Linked DNA regions of Homo sapiens: region 2 is linked to region 1. Evidence: promoter capture Hi-C in 16 types of primary human blood cells and fetal thymus (Javierre and others, 2016). All regions are on one chromosome and are shown on one strand. Each heading gives the region's core, a stretch centred on a gene start or on the middle of the fragment in contact. The rest is flanking DNA. Distances are from core to core; before and after follow the strand shown. Region 1 holds the start of MMP17 (matrix metallopeptidase 17). Region 2 overlaps EP400 (E1A binding protein p400).

Region 1 (5,623 bases), core at 1,233-3,732:
GGGGGGACAGTGCGCTCTTTTGTCCCCGCCGGGGGCTCCTGAAAGCCCGGCTCCGCAGCCCAGCAGCCTGAATCCCGGCCTTGTTCACGTGCATACGGGGGGCGCTCCGGGGCGGGCCCTCCCCTCCAGCCCCGGCTCCAGCCCTGCTGGGTGCAGCTCTGTCTGCAGCTCTGAGACAAAGGAGCACTTCTCGTCCCTGGCGCCCAGACCTGAATATCAGTCCACTCCGGGAGCGCCTCCGGCGAGCGGGCGGAGGAGGAGTCCCCGCTCCCGCCCAGATCCCGGCCTCCTCGTCCCTCCCCGCGGGGAAGCCGCCCGCCCCTGGGCCTGAGCTCGGCCCGCGGTTCCCCGAGGGCCAGCAGAGGACGCCCCGCACCGCCAGTGTGAGCAGGAAGCCGCGGCAGGACGGAGGCTCCACGCCAGGCCGGGCCCGACACGGAGCGGGGCTCCAGGCAGGGGGCTGCCCGCAGCGTCCTCCCTCTCCGGCTGGACACCGGGGCCCCACTCACTGCCCCCGGCCAGGCTGGGGAGCCACATCCTCCGCTCGGTGCTGTCGCAGGGCGCGGGGCGGGTGACCCCCGGGGTGCCAGGAGAGACCGAGGCGCAGGTACCAGCCGAGAGGAGGGCGCCTGACCCACTCTCTCCGGGCAGGGGGGCAGGTGGGTGGCGAGAAACTTCCAAACCGCACTGGGTCTGATCAGCCAACATGGCTCGGCCGGGGGTCCATCCTCCTGAGTGTGTGGGCCCCACCTTGAGTCCTTCCCTGGCATTGCCCCGGCCCCTTCTGCGGCACCCTCGGACCTGGAAGGCGGGCCTGGGTTCACCTCCCTCCACAGCTGGAGACCCCAGGCCCCCAGGGCGTGATTCTCAGTGGGGGATCCGGGAGATCCGCACCTACAAAAGGGTCTTGAGGAGGTGGAGGGGGGCACCCCAAGTTCACAGGCTGCCTGGCTGGAAGGAAGCCACTGTGGGGACCTGCAGGCACCTGGACGCGGGCAGCAGGGACAGTGGCCAGCACCCTCCCAGATGGCTTCGGGGCCTGGGGCAAACGGTGGCCAAATCGGCTTCCCATCCAGACCCCCTGGCCAAGTCCTGCCAACCACAGGGGCTGCGGGTGCCACCCAAGTGGCCCCTCCATATGCCTCGACTGCCTGAAATACACCTGCGCTGACTTGCTTGGACCCCAAGGTTTTGGAGCTCCTGAATGTCCACTGCGCTGGGCGAGGGGCCCTGCCAGGACCCCACTGGGAGACTGTCCGCGGACGAGGGCCAGGCCGAGTACTTGTGTGGGGCGGGGAGGCCTCGGCTCCTGGCCCGACTCCCTGGGTAGGAGTCCATTGAAGGCAGCGGTGGGGCAGGAGCCTCAGAAGGAACCAACGAACCCAGCGGGAGTTCACCCGGCCGCCCCAGCGGGGGGGCGCTGACCCCACGACGTGTGCTCTAAATCTTCCGGGTCCACAGGAGACGCGAGTCCCGGCTGCGGAACAGGGGAGGGGGCTGTAGGAAGAGGCCACGTCGCTGCCCCCAGGCAGGGTTTCTAAGCTGAGCTGGGGACAGCTACTGGGTGTGGAGTGAGGAAGGCTCTCCCCGCGCCCCCGGCTCAGCACTGTACCAGGGCAAGGCAGGGCCAGCCTGGCCGACCTGGGGTGGAGGGGAAGGAGGCTGAGGGCCAGGTCCTTGTCCAGTGGGGAGCTGGGGGCCAGCATCCCTGTGCCCCCAACACCCTCAACCGAGCAAACTCGGGGGCTCAAGGCTTTCGGGGTGCCCCCACTCCGTAGCCCCTGCCCTTCCTCGCTTTGTGGGTGCGTGCTCCTGCCCCCGCCACTCCCACCCGGAACGCACGCAGCGCGCAGAGCTCGGGGCGGCCGCGATGCCTGCTCTCGCCCAGCCCGGCTGCTCCGGGGCTGCTGCAAGCCGGCGACCCGGGCTCCGGGTGGGCGACCCCCTCACAACTCCACGGGCTCCTGCGGCTGCGGCGCGCTCCCAGCGCACGGAGCCGGGACGGCAGCCGGCGCCTCCCCAGGACTCGCGTGCGCTCGCCCGGTCGCTCAGCCCGCGTCCCTGCCTCAGTCTCCCCACCCAGGAAATGGGTCCAGGGCGCCAGGGCTCCCGCGCGACGCCGACGTGCACTGCTGGGGTCTTCCCGGTCCCCGCCACCCGGCCCGCGGAGACCCCCGGCTCCGGCCCAGGAGCTCCGCGCCCGTCCCGCCCGCGCGCTCACCACTCCCAGGCTGAGGTCCTCGGCGCGCGGCGCGGGTGCGGGCGCGGCGCAGCCCCCGCGGGTCCCCAGCGCCAGCAGCAGCAGCAGCGGCAGCGGCAGCCGCGAGAGTCCGGGCCCTGGGGGCGGCGGGCCGGGTCCCCGGGCTGCGCGGCGCCGCATGGCGCTCACATGGGCCCGCGGGCGGCGTGCAGGGTCCCGCGCCCTCCGCTTCGCGTTCCGCAGCCCGGCGCCCTCCGCTCTCCGCGGCGCCCCCGCCGGACTGAGCCCCGCGCGGCAGCCTCAAGCGGCGGGGCGGGGCCATGCAAATGTATGCTAACGAGGCCGGCCGCCTTAAAGGGCCCGCGCCGCCTCGGACGCTGCCACCCCCGCCCGCCCCGCCGTGTCCGCGACGGGACTGGGTCCGCGGCATCACAGGGAAGGCGTTTCCCCGGGTGTCTTAGGACGCTCTTGGGGCGGCGGGGACGCGCGGGATGGGCGCGGAGGCGGGGGTCGGGGCGCCTGCGGGGAGCTGACCCTGACTCCCCTCTCCGGCCGCGCTCCCGGGTCCACCCCCCACGGCGCCGAGGCCCGGGTTCAGACCCGGGTTCAGGCCCCGGAGCCGCCGCCGCAGCGCAGCAGGTGGGCGCTTGGTGGAGCCCGCGGACCGCGGGAGAGGGAGGGTGGGGCTTGGGGGGCGCGGGGGACTGGAGGGCGAGGGCGGGTGTTGGGGGGGCTGGGGTCCTCGGCGGAGGCTCTGCGGTCCCTGCGGGCCTGGGAGCGAGAATGTTAACTTGTAATGTTTGTTGGAGCGCAGCGTGTGCCTGGCACATGCCCAGGAGTTACATAAATAATTTCATTTACTTACAACATTTATGAGATGAAAACTATGATTTCCATTTCGCAGACAAAGAAACTGAGGCCCAAAGAAATGAAGTAACTTATGGGAGGTCCTGGAGCGGGCAAGCGGCAGAGCCAGGGTCAGAGCCCGAGCAGGCGCTTGTGTGGATTGAACTCGTGCAAGTTGCGTACAGGCTGCCCACCGAGTGGGAGATCTTGGGAGAGGGCAGGGGGTGAGGTTCAAGGGTAACCCTTGCCTTTATTCAGCTTCTCCTCGTGCTGGACAGCATGGCTTCCCCTCCTTCCCAGGCCCTCCTGCTCCACCACCCCAAATCGCAGCTGGTACTGTCAGGACTGAGGTCTCATTCTACGGACAGGGAAACTGAGGCTCGGCCCCTTTTACCAGAACTGGTCTCAGGGAAGTGGTGCCCCTCCCCTCCTGTGAGGGCCGACTCCCCCCAACCACCCCCCCCCCCCCCCCCCCGCTTCCCTGGGTACTCTGGCCCATCCTGTCCCTGCTGCCCTCAGAGCCTCCCTGGCCCGGTCTGAACAGGGTGATTCCACACCTGCTTCAGATGACCTTGGTTCGGACTGATGGGATCACCTGTAGGAGGTGGGGACTTTCACAGGACATCCCGGATTGTTTTTTCTTTCTTTCTTTTTTTTTTTTTTGCTCTGTTGCCCAGGCTGGAGTGCAGTGGCACGATCTTGGCTCACTGTAATTTCTGCTTCCTAAATTCAAATGATTCTCCTGTCTCAGCCTCCTGAGTAGATGGGATTTCAAGCGTGCACAACCGTGCCCAGCTAATTTTTGTATTTTTAGTAGAGACGGGGTTTCACCATGTTGGCCAGGCTGGTCTTGAACTCCTGACTTCAGGTGATCAGCCCGCCTTGGCCTCCCAAAGTGCTGGGATTACAGGCGTGAGCCACCGCACCTGGCCTCATCCGGGATTTTGACCAAGTGCATCAGGACAACCTGGTTTCCAGAGCAGAGACCCAGCCAAAGCGGCTGTAGTCAAGGAAAGGAAGCGTATGGGTATGGGCTCAGGAAACGGTGGCGTCCTAGCGTGTGCCAAAGTCAGGCAGGGCTGGACCAAGTCTCACAGCAACAGCGTCAGAACGCGGTTTCTCTCAGTCCATCTCTGTGTGGGGCAAAGACGGCCCAGGGCAGCTCCTGTGCATCCTTCCCCCTCAGCAGGCCCAGCCAGAGACAGACTCTTTCTCAACCAATGGTCCCAAGGCCACCTCTCTCTGGATTCTGGGTCAGGACCTGATCGTGGGGCCAGGGGCAGGGAAGTGAGCTGAAGCCCTGGGCTGGAAGGGATTCTCTACAGGAAATCAGAGGTGCTGAAGTCAGAGGAAGGGAGGGTGGATGGCAGGCAAAGCTGGGTCGAGGACTCAGAAGAGGGAACGCGGCCAGTGCCCCCACTGCATCATGGGGCTCATACACATCTGAGACTTGGAACAGGACGCTGTTGAGGGGCTGTAGCTCGGTGCTGGCAAGGGGCTTCACCGCGGGGCTTGCTGGCATTGAAGGGAGATGGCTTGTTTATGGAGCTTGGGCGACAGTGGCTTGGGATGTACAAATGTGAGAAGGGCCTTACAGGCAGGCCACTGTTCTCCCCAGAAAGGCCTGGTGGCGGCTGGTGAACTGGAGATGCTTGGTTAGACATCGGGAATTTGACCTTCCTCAAAGCAGCTGCCTGGCACCATGGCTGCTGTGTTCCCTTCAAGCCTGCCACCCCATTCGGACATCTGAAAGCCGCTGAGATCCAAGCCCCGCAAGAAATCGCTCTTCTCCCATCAGCTTTGCAACGCTGAAAAATCATGACGGCACGGTGGCTCACACCTGTAATCCCAGCACTTTGGGAGGCTGAATTGCAGGCGGATCGCTTGAGCTCAGGAGTTTGAGACCAGACTGACGAATATGGCGAAACCCATGTTTCTACTAAAAATATAAAAATAGCTGTGCATGGTGGTGTGTGCCTGTGGTCCCAGCTACTTGGGAGGCTGAAGTGGAAGGATCACTTAAGCACAGGAATTCCGGCGAGACAGAGCGAGACCCTGCCACGAAAAAGAAAGAAAGAAAGAGAGAGAGAGAAAGAAAGAAAGAGAGAGAGAGAAAGAAAGAGAGAGAGAGAAAAAAAAGAGAAAGAGAAAGAGAAAGAGGGGAGGGAGGAAGGAAGGAAGGAAAAAGAAAAACCACGTATTATCATCTGTGGAGGAGGGTGTGGGGAGTGGGCACTCAGGCTCCTGGTACAGCCCCTCGGGAGGGCCACCAGGTAGCAGCTATTACGATTCAAGAAGCACATGTTCTGCGGCCAGAATTCTTGGCGTCTGCTGTAGAGGAACGCTCCGGTCTTTGCACGGGAAGGCTAATGCAAGCATGGTGTTGCAGCGGGATTTGTAATAGGAAAGAATTCAGAAACTGCCCACGCGCCCACCCATGGCCGACTGGCTGATCCAGGGCCATGTGTCCTGCTGGCTGTGGCCAAGGGCATGGGTAGGGGCTGGAGTCCCACCTGCACCCTGTTTATGGATCCATGGCCTCACCGTGGGGCCACAGCACATGAGGAATCAGGCACC
Region 2 (5,623 bases), core at 904-3,403, 160 kb before region 1:
CTGCCAGGCAAAGCCAGGCAACAAAATGAAGCTAAATCCACATCATTGCTTAGTGGGTGAGCACTGAGCACAGGCTTGATCCCAACAACGCATGCTGGGCTCTGAAGACACCACCTCAGAGACTTAATTACACAGCACAGTTATTCTCCAAACAACAGGGAAGTATCCTTCCCAGACTTCACAGGTTAAGGCCTCTAGAGTGAGTCTGCCAGGCACAGTGGTTCACGCCTGCAATCCCAGCACTCCAGGAGGCCGAGGCGAGCAATCACTTGAGCCCAGGATTCAAGACCAGTCTGGGTAATGTGGCAAAAAACACAAAATTAGCTGGACATTCCAGCCTGGACAACAGAGCAAGACCCTGTCTGGGGGAAAAAAAAAAAAAAAAAAAAAAAAAGTGGGTCTGGAGACCTCCCCACCACTTACACCACTGCAAACTCAAGCCCCCACCAACGCACACAGCACAGCAGCTCCACGCATTCCAACCCACCTTCTTCGCAGCAGCCACCTTCCACCTCCTCTCCTGGGCAAAGTCTGTGGCCATCCACTGCATCTCCTCCAGCAGATAGTCCCAGTGGGACTTGGGGCGTGGGGCCTCCTGCAGCTTTGGCAGACGCCTCTGGGACCACAGACCTGCTTTCCTCAGCTCCGCAATGCGCTGATGCACCTGGTTCTCCTGTAGATGATACATGGGGGATGGTGGGGTCGGCATGTGATGAGTGTGTTCCACCAACTCAGACCCCAGAAATTTGAAGCCCTACTATGCAAAAGGCTCAGTCAGGCACTAAGAAAGAGAGAAAGCACAAGGTCCCAGTTTAATATCAAAGGTAAGATTCGAACACAAAGGTCAAAGTGGTTCTAGGAGAGGTCTAGGAGCATGTGACCCTTCCAGGAGCCTTAGAAGAAGCTGGAGCAATAGTCCTGCCCCAGCTCTATAAAACAGACTAAAACTTTAAAACCTCATGTTTCTACCAAAGTGTTTACATGGGAAACCATAGGATGTCTGGAATTTGCTTCTAGATAATCTGGAAAGGAGTGGGATAAATGAAATGAGACTAGCTGCATACTGATCACTGTGATAAAATCAAATAATGGGGAACATGGGGTTTATGACACTCTATTTTGATACACATTTCTTTTAATTCCCCTAATGAAGTTGAACAAAATAAATGCTTAGTCATCCAACCCAAAGTAAGTGCTAAGGGCTGGGCAGTGACTCTCAAACACAGGGCTGCAGACTGGTGGCTGCAGGGACCTCACAGCCTGCAGGGCCCCAGCGCTCAAGCTTGTCCCTCTCCGCCTAACTGCTACACGTGACCTCTCCCACCCTCGTCTACTGCCCATATGAAAGCAGCCCAAGACTGCAGGCTTTATCACAAAAACGCAGACTGCCCCCATGAGTCTGCTTCCAACAGAAAAGGCTAACCCTTGGTTTTCATCTTGTGTCTACTGATTCCCAAGCCATGCTGAATTGACCAGGCATTCGGTTTTACGCCATCACATTCTTGACAATTAAAACTAAATGTGCTTCACCAACTGGAGTACATTTTACAACTTTCTTAAGCATGCTTACCAGAGTTATTTGTTCTGTCAGCGTATCCTGAGAACTGTCTTGGGACGAGGTGGCATTCTGAGCAGGACTCTGTGGTTTGGTGGGGGCAGATGCCACCACCCCTGGGGTCCGGGAAGTGACTGGAGATAGTGCCTTATTGGTGGCTGAGGAAGGTCTATTTACTGGAGAGGATCGAGCAGGGGAGGGTCCTGGGCCGGAGCCACTCACAGGCGCGAGGGACGAGGTAGAAGAGGTGGGCAGAGGCCGTGGGCAGGGCGGGGCAGGGTCCACAGGGAGCCTTGTCGATGCTACCATCTGTAAGGGCAGGGCACAAGTGGAGCAAGGTGAAGAAAAGATGTCGGGGCAGCCCACGGTGCCAAATACCTGAGCGCCCACAGCACCAGAGACGCGCACTGCCAGCACCTTCCGCTCCACGATGCAAGCAGACAAATCACATCGTATCCACAGCCCAACACTAACGTGTCCACAAATAATACATCCTCCCACTTCCACAAAACCAAATAGGAGTTTTCATTATGAACTATCTTTAGGCCATGCCCAGTGGCTCATGCCAGTAATCCCAACACTTTGGGAGGCTGAAGTGGGAGGACTGCTTGAGCCCAGGAGTTTGAGATGAGCCTGGGCTTTGACAAAGAAAGACCCCATCTCTACAAAAAAATTTAAAAATTAGCCAGGTGTGGTGGTGTGCACCTTTGGTCGCAGCTACATGGGAGGCTGAGGTGGGAGGACTGCTTGAGCCTGGGAGGTTGAGACTGCAGTGAGTCATGTTTGTGCCACTGTACTCCAGCCTGGGCAACGAAGCAAGACCCTATCTCAACAAAATATAAAATAAAATAAAATACAAATTCAGTGTGCCTCTCTCATGGCAGACAGGCTAAAAGGGTTAAAAAATCCTCCTCAGGCCAGGCGCAGTGGCTCACGCCTATAATACCAGCACTTTCAGAGGCCGAGGTGGGCGGATCACCTGAGGTCAGGAGTTCAAGACCAGCCTGACCAACATGGAGAAACCTCGTCTCTACTAAAAATACAAAATTAGCCGGGCATGGTGGCACATGCCTATTAATCCCAGCTACTCGGGAGGCTGAAGCAGGAGAATTGCTTAAACCCAAGAGGCGGAGGTTGTGGTGAGCTGAGATTGCGCCATTCTACTCCAGCATGGGGAACAAGAGCAAAACTCCGTCTCAAAAAAAGAAAAGTCCTCCTCTTCGCACCACCTCAACGACAGACTTAAAGTCACAGAGAACTGCTGCGACTCTGTGACTTAAATTCACAGAGAGCAGGGAAGGTGGGCTGAGTGAAGGCTCACACAAGATTTAGCCCGTTCAAAAGCTGAAGGGAGACAGAACCGCTAGAGCACACTCTCTCTGAGCGCCCGTCCCACGACGTGGGTCTGCTTTCTTCACCTCGGCAGCGCCGTCTCCCGGCTGGCCACAGGCGTTTGGAAATGAAGCTTTATTACAGCACAGCCACATCCACTTACGTGCTGTCCGTGAGCGGCTGTGTCTTCACTTCTGCCACAGAAACTGAACAGCTCGCAAAGCTGGAACATTTACTCCCTGGCCCTTGACTGAGAAAGTGTGCCAACCCTGGCTAACCTAGAAGTAACAGGTTCCTACAGACTTTGTAAAGCGCTTCTTTAAAATCATTTTCCAGGCTGGGTGTGGCGGCTCACGCCTGTAATCCCAGCATTTTGGGAGCCCAAGGTGGGTGGATTAGTTGAGGTTAGGAGTTTCAGACCAGCCTGGCCAACATGGCAAAAGCCCATCTCTACTAAAAAGTAAAAAAAAAAAAACAGTTGCCTAAGCATGCATAAGATATTATGTGCATTGTAAAATGATCAGTAAATGATTTCCTCTACTGTTGTTCTTAAGGAGAGAATATAAAGTTATTTAGAGAGCTAAATTGTGAAATAAATCATTTCTCTGCTGGAAAAAAAAAAAACCTAGTAGGGCGTGGTGGCGCATGCCTGTAGTCCCAGCTACTCGGGAGGCTGAGGCAGGAGAATGGTTTGAACCCAGGAGGCAGAGGTTGCAGTGAGCGGAGATCGTGCCACTGCGCTCCACCCTGAGGGACAGAGTGAGACTCTGACTCAAAAAAAAAAAAGATAAAATAAAATAAAACCATTTTCCACAGCTGAGTTTTTCAGTAACACAGGCAGGTAAATTAAATCTAAGAAAAACCACGGAGCTGCTTTAAGTCAGTATGTGGCTCGATGTGAGGAAGTGTTCAAAATAGAATCATTTCCACAAAAACCTAAAGCAAGCAATGTAAGGCCTAGAAGAGCTCAGCTGCCCTGGCATGTGTCGCCTTTCTCAAAGTGGGTGTACAAGGCTTCCCTGCAGACTTGCACAAAAGGCTCCCAACTACAGCCCCCCCAGTTGCTGGCTTTTCTGGCCTCTGGTTTTTTTAATCTATAAAATGGAGATAGTAAAGATTCTACCTCATAAGGTTGTCAGGTAAAGGAAATAAACAATGCCAATAAATCGCTCATCACAGTGCTTGACACCACACCTCACAAGTGGTGAATAAGAGATAGCTATTATTGTTACTATTATTTCATCGTTATATACTTAAGACTTTGCCATAAATCTCAAACATAAAGAACCTGTAGGCCGGGTGCGGTGACTCACGCCTGTAATCCCAGCACTTTGGAAGGCCAAAGCCAGCGGATCACCTGAGGTCAGGAGTTCAAGACCAGCCTAACCCATGGAGAAACCTCGTCTTTACTAAAAACACAAAATTAGCCGGCATGGTGGCAACATGCCTATAATCCCAGCTACTCGGGAGCTGAGGCAGGAGAATCGCTTGAACCCAGGAGGCAGAGGTTGTGGTGAGCCGAGATCGGGCCACTGCACTCCAGCCTGGGTAACAAGAGCGAAACTCCGTCTAAAAAAAAAAAAAGAAAAAGCACTTGTAGCTTGGGCAGCATGGCGAAATCCCATCTCTACAACAATACAAAAATCAGCCAGGTGTAGTGGTGTGCGCCTGTAGTCCCAGCTACTCAGGGGGCAGGGACAGGAGGATCATCTAAGCCCAGGAAGTAGAGGCTGCAGTGAGCAGAGATCGTGTCACTGCATTCCAGCCTGGGTGACAGAGCCAGACCCTGTTTCAAAACAAACAAACAAAAACCCTGAACTTAAAGCCCACCTAGGAAATTCCTTTGTTAGTGAGGGAGAAGGCAAAAGGAAGGGAAGACTCTCTGCAGTGGGCTCCCCACGCCCTGATGTGCATCAAACAGTGGAGAACCAAGGGGGCTGAGAGTCCTCCCCGGCCTCCCTGTCAGTGCCCTGTTGACGGCTGGCACCGAGGCTGTGGCATTTCGCTATTCCTTAGGAACCGAAACCAGTTTACTGTGGACATCCCAAAAACACACTGGGTAAAATTAATCAGTGGAGGAGGAGGGGCATTTTAACTACCTGAAATGTGTATCAAGCTGCATCAGTAACGCCTTACACATGTGTATCAAGCTGGATCAGTAACACCTTACACACATTTGCAGAGCATATAGCATCCCAAAAGCAGCAAAGCAGGCGTCCAGGGAGCACGTCTGGTGGGTGGTGTCCAACATGGTTTTGCACTCACATGGAGCTAGGGTCAAGCCCCGCTCATCACTTCATCGCCATGTAACCTGGGGCCAGCCCCAGAACCTCTGAGTATGTGTCTCCACACTGGTAGAATGGGTCGCTGCCACCTACCTGAGGGTTGCTAGGCAGATCATAAGGGATAACTGACACCATGCCCTTCACACAACATATGGGTGAGTAAGGAGGGACCCCTGGTACTAAGAGTGACAATAATAACAGTTGTCTATTATTATTATTATTTTTTTTTTTTTTTTGAGACAGAGTCTCACTCTGTCACCCAGGCTGGAGTGCAATGGTGTGATCTCAGCTCAGTGCAACCTTCACCTCCCAGGTTCAAGTGATTCTCCTGCCTAAGCCTTTGAAGTAGCTTGGACTACAGGCACTTGCCACCACGCCTGGCTAATTTTTGTATTTTTAGTAGAGACAGGGTTTCGCCATGTTGGCCAGGTTGGTCTCGAACTCCTGAGCT

What was found. Contacts are between HindIII fragments. The CHiCAGO score rates a contact against its expected background, and 5 or more counts as called.
Region 2: a contact is called between a fragment that was not itself captured here and the fragment with the promoter of MMP17 in region 1, in 2 of 17 cell types (monocytes and neutrophils). The highest score is 7.0, in monocytes.

What each region holds. Positions count from the first base shown.
Region 1 is chr12:131,825,252-131,830,874 of GRCh38, reverse strand. MMP17 (matrix metallopeptidase 17) reads right to left here and starts at 2,482. Exons shown (of 10, transcript NM_016155.7): 1 at 2,222-2,482. The coding sequence starts at 2,380. RefSeq lists silencers at 239-498, 2,488-2,617 and an enhancer at 146-755. The HindIII fragment of the contact is 25,913 bases long and covers 1-5,623 here.
Region 2 is chr12:131,982,755-131,988,377 of GRCh38, reverse strand. EP400 (E1A binding protein p400) reads right to left here. Exons shown (of 53, transcript NM_015409.5): 6 at 1,571-1,864; 7 at 488-673. Among named protein-coding and RNA genes, the nearest start is that of EP400, 36 kb to the right of the region's middle. RefSeq lists enhancers at 405-1,055, 1,728-2,347. The HindIII fragment of the contact is 1,738 bases long and covers 1,285-3,022 here.